Regions from separate parts of the Homo sapiens genome. Here region 2 is linked to region 1. The links are contacts of gene promoters, found by promoter capture Hi-C in human tissues and cell types (Jung and others, 2019). All regions are on one chromosome and are shown on one strand. Each heading gives the region's core, a stretch centred on a gene start or on the middle of the fragment in contact. The rest is flanking DNA. Distances are from core to core; before and after follow the strand shown.

Region 1 (2,527 bases), core at 16-2,515:
CTCACCATCCCACAATGCCTGCTCTCAGCAGCATATAGTTCTTTTCATAGCCCTGTATTATAGTTTGTATCTTTACCAGTGTGATTGTTAGATTCTGCCTCCCTACCAAATTCTAAGCTCTAGGGGAATAGGCACGGTGCCAGTCTAGCCCTGTGCCTGCAGTGCCAGAGCAATCCCTTCTGAATGAAAGAATAGCCACCGTTCCAGTACAGCTGCAGACCCAGGAACCTCCACAGCCTCTGGGAGGGCTGTGAGCTAGAAGGGTGACCACGACATGTATTCTTCAAAGCCTACCACTTCTGCGAGCGAAAAGGGGCACTCTTCACACTTAGGAGTTGCCTGGTTACACTCCCAGCCCTGAATAACAGGCTGTGCCTGCCGGCCACAGGAGCAAGGCGAAGACGAGTCTAACTAGAAGGGGATGGGCTACAACATTTTGGGGGAATAGGGAGAGGGTAATTTAAATTTTGCTTAACTGTCCCTGCATTTAAACTGTTGTCTTCTACATCATGTATTCATTTGTACATTCGTTTGTCCCCCCTCTAGAATGTAAGCTCAGAGGGCGGGGCTTGGCCTGTTTGTTCATTGCTATATCCCACGCTAAGTGCCTGGCGCATAGTAGACGCTCAATAAACATCTGAATGAATGTACTCACAGCTGAGTGTTATGCCCCAAGTGAATAAAGGATGAAGAATCATATAATACTTAAAAATCCAACAGGCCAGGCGCGGTGGCTCACACCTGTAATCCCAGCACTTTGGAAGGCCGAGGCGGGAGAGGCTTGAGCCCAGGAGTTTGAGACCACCTGGGCAACACAGCGAGACCCCGTCTCTATTAAAAAAACAAATCCGAACAAAACCGAGACCTCACAGTTGGAAAGCCGAAGGCTCAAGACCAGAGGGGCAGGAGGCCTACCAACTGCCAAGGTCCTGCGCTCAGGACGATGCGCTGAGGGCCGCGGAGGCTGAGCGGGGGCGCGGTTGAAAGCGGCTCTCACTGACCCCACCTCCGCCCAGCCGCAGCCCCGCCACCACCTCTGGGTCCTCTAACCCCCGGCGTCCCCGCCGCGGCCTCAAGCCCCCTCTTGGCCTCCGCCCTCCTGACATACACTGGCCCTCGCCGCCCCCTCCCCAAATCCCGTCGCACTCCAGGACCCCCCATACCCGGATCCCATAGGGCCTGGGAACGGCCGCGCTCCTGTCTTCGGAATTCCCGCGGCCCCTGGGCCGCGCCGGCGCCGCCCCCGCCCCCGGCCCGTGCGTCCAGGCTGGCGCCGCGCTGCGCCCCCTCTGCGCCGGCCTCTGCGGCTGCGCGCTGGCGGGGCTGAGGCCGAGGGGTGGGGGTCGCGCCGGGGGCCGGCGGAGCTCCTGTGGTGGTAGCAGCGGTAGCGGGAGACGGAGCGAGTCCAGCGGCCGCGGGCAGACCCGGAGGGAACGGAGGAAGCGGTCATGTCTCGCTACACGAGGCCCCCCAACACCTCCCTGTTCATCAGGAACGTCGCGGACGCCACCAGGTGAACGGCCGCGGCTGCAGGTTGGGGGCGCGGAGGAGGGGCGGGGTAACAGCCGCGCCGCGGAGCACGGCCGAGGCCCGGCGGAGGCTCGGGGGAGCTGCGCGGAGCCTCCCCGCGGGCCCAGGCTGCGCCACTTGGGGAGGTGTGAGCCCTCGGACTACTCCGCGGCCCAGGGCGGAACTCGCGCCTCCGCCCTCCCGGCCAGCTTTCAGCCCCGGCGCCGCGCACATCGTGTCCCGGGCCCGCGTCGCTTTCCGCGGTTCAGCACCGCAGCCGGCGGGCCGTGGGACACGGGGCGCCCCTCTCCCGAGCTCAGGTCGCTCCCCGCCGGGAGTCGGGAGGGTTTGCGCTCCAGCGAGTGCCCGCGTTTCAGCTCCTTTGTCGCCGTGCCCCGATAAAATCGCGCGCATCCAACCCTCCTAGATGGAGAGGAATTGGGGCTGGTGAGAACGTTTTGTACCATAATGCGTACTCGGGCCTTACAGTTTCTTTCCCCCAGTTCTGGTCTACTTACAGACGGTGCTGCTTGCATTTTATTCACACAATTTTATTCTGCATACAAAAAATAACTTCAATGAATGAGATCAGTGCGTTTTTCTTTAAAGTTCTGAGTCCAGTATTAACACCCTTTTTAAGGGCGTGAGTATAGGCTCACCTGGTTGATTCTGATGCCCCACCCCTCCGTTGAGAATTTTGTCTACAGAGTGTCTGAACACAGATACTAAGGAATGACTTTTTCATATAGCACTTCCTTCCTTAATGGAGCTGAAGAAATTGGGGGCGGGGGGAGAGGGAACGGTGTTAATAGACATTCTCATTTCACTGGGCTTCATTTACTTCCCCCCAGCCTTTCTACCTATGCAGTACTGTTTTATTGTACATAAGGGAGAGCGGAAACTAAGAGTTTTAATGATTTACCTGGGGCCAGAGAGGTATAGATACATGGAGCTCTTGACTCCATAGTCATCTGAGATGAGTATTATAATTTACCTTTGAGGAGTAAATAAACGTTAA
Region 2 (2,527 bases), core at 15-2,514, 110 kb after region 1:
AATTCTCACTGGTGGAGGTGGCTGGCTTAGTATGTGTGTCTATAGTTCATTGGTTGTTGCTGTTCAGGAGTTGCTGCGCTGGTGAAGTTAAGCTGTTTTCCAGGATATTTACATTCATGATCATTACAATTTGGGCCAATTCAAAGGTTCGAAGCAAGTTTCTGCCTTTTTTTTTTTTTTTTTTTGCTGGGTTGCAGGTTATGCAGGAAGTCCTTCTTAAAATGGCTTCCTGATGCCATTTTATAGCTCTGAACCAGAGTGATGCCATTTTGTATATCACATTTCACATTTCTGCCCTATTGATCCAGATAGGGGATGAGGAAGCATCACTGATCAATGATTGGTGGTCAGCCACAGAGTTATTATCTGTTTCCCTCAGAGCTGGAAGCATCTGTTTCTAAAGTGTTATGTCCCATGGAGGGGGGTTGTTGAAAGTCAGTGTGCATCCAAGACTTCAGAGATTGGCCAAATTTGAGTAACAAAGGAGCTGTCATAAATAAGGAGGGCTGCATCAGTCTATGGTGGTTAGCTGTATATTGGGAGAGACACACATCTGATTAACTATGTCTAAATGTTGTAATATCATGATCTTAACATCCTGGATAGTCTGGCAGCAATGAGAAATATAGATGGTACAAGTTGTTAAAAGAAAAACTTTAGACAAATTAAACTTAACAGAGTTTAATTACACAGACAATGTTTCATGAATCTGGCAGCCGCCAGAACCAGAATAGGTTCAGAGTAACAACAACACTGGGGCAGCCACATGGTCAAATAACATTTATGGACAGAAAAAGGAAAGTGACATATAGAAAACAGAAGTGAGGTACGGAAATAGCTGGATTGGTTACAGCTTGACATGTGACTTAATTTGAACACACTTTGAACAACAGTTAGTTGCCTGTGATTGGCTGAGACTAGGCTACTTGTTAAAAGAGTAGGTTACAATCTGTTTACATATCCAGTTAGGTTACAGTTCACTCTCTATGGAGCAACCTTTAGGCTATACTCAAAATACATAAGAAGGCAGCTTTAGGCAAAACTTTTAACAATTTAAAAATTTAACAATTCTCCCCCTTTAGGCTAATTTCTTAATTTTTGAGAGATTGACAAAAACTTTAGGCATTGACATTATGCTCTCACCATTGTAAATGGACTTTGGGCTCAAATCTCTCTTTAAGACAGGGTCTTTCTATGTTGCCCAGGCTGGAGTGCAGTGGCATGATCTCAGCTAACTGCAACCTCCACCTCCTGGGCTCAAGCAATCCTCCCACCTCAGCCCCTGCAGTAGCTGGGACTATACGTGCATACCATCATGCCTGGGTAATGTTTGTGTATTTTGTAGAGATGGGGTTTTGCCGTGTTGCCCAAGCTGGAGGGTTACTTTTTGTTAAGGGTTAGAGCAGAGGAGCCTTCTTATTATGATAGAATCTCTTTTTTTCAGACTTGTTAGGTCTTGGGTTCCCTTGACTGCAGTTTCCAAAAGAGCAGAGAAGTATCCTGCTCACAGTACCAAAACTGTATGGGCAAAAGGGAAACTTCCCCTTTGCTCTTTGAAAGTTTGCTGAAAATCAACAGACAAAAGGCAGATTAATAGGAGAAAAGGCAGATTTATTAATGTGTGTGTGTGCATGTGTGTGGGAACCAGAGTGTCACTGAAGCTGCTACATTGTCTGGGGTATATACCCTGGGTTTCGATGTTGCGAGCCAGGAAAATTTAGGACACGGACACACCCGAGGAGTTTAGGAGCAGACGTTTAAAAGGCAGAAGAGAAGAGAAAGAGATACAGCTCTCTCTATAGAGAAAGGGGTCTCCTAGTGCAAAGGACCAGCTGATGGTGAATGTGCCAGATTTTATAGTCCAGTTTGAGGAAGTGGTGTCTGATTTACATAGGACTCACAGATTGGTTCCATCAGGTATGACGTTTACATATTGCATAGGGAAGGCTGGTTGCCCCATCCTAATCTTATTACGCAAATGGGCTTTCCAGTTGACCGGCACCATCTTATCTGCTCCTTACAGTACATGTGGCCGAGAAAGAGAAGGGAAGATGGAGTTGCCATCTTGAACATGTCTGGTTCCTAGTTCCTGCCAGTATTCACCTGTGCAAGCTCCCAGCTCAACCTTACAGGCTGCTCTTTGTTAGAAAATGATTTGGGGCTGCTTTTCATTGAAAAGAAAAGCTTTACTGAAGACTCCCATATCCTTACTATCTGCCTAAGTGATTTCTTCTTAACTCCTGTATCGTCATTACCCCATATCCCAACAGGGTACAGAAGCTTGTATCACATTTTTCATAGGTGAGGAAAAAGGTGGCGGATGTAGACAATTCTTTTGAGGTGCAGGCAGTGATCATTAGAATAAATGGATGAGGGAGATAGAAATTAACTTATAGATGATTCTCTTTGGAATCTGAATGAGCCTGAGAGGCAGGCAGGCATTATCTTGTGACAAAGTCCATGTTGGTGTGGTTGCATTCCTCACTTTCTTTTCTGATCAAGATAATGATATTTCAGGGGAAAAATA

The links. The method cuts DNA at HindIII sites, captures the fragments that hold promoters and counts their contacts. A contact is called where the count stands out against the background at its distance.
Region 2: a fragment that was not itself captured here is called in contact with the fragment with the promoter of SRSF12 in region 1 in 2 of the 25 tissues and cell types used here (aorta and liver).

Annotation. Positions count from the first base shown.
Region 1 is chr6:89,116,809-89,119,335 of GRCh38, reverse strand. It overlaps SRSF12 (serine and arginine rich splicing factor 12), which reads left to right and starts at 1,265. Exons shown (of 5, transcript NM_080743.5): 1 at 1,265-1,513. The coding sequence starts at 1,449. It also overlaps a transcript of PM20D2 not described here. RefSeq lists a silencer at 1,412-1,681. The HindIII fragment of the contact is 14,948 bases long and covers 1-2,527 here.
Region 2 is chr6:89,009,345-89,011,871 of GRCh38, reverse strand. No RefSeq gene overlaps it. Among named protein-coding and RNA genes, the nearest start is that of RNGTT, 47 kb to the right of the region's middle. The HindIII fragment of the contact is 3,357 bases long and covers 1-2,527 here.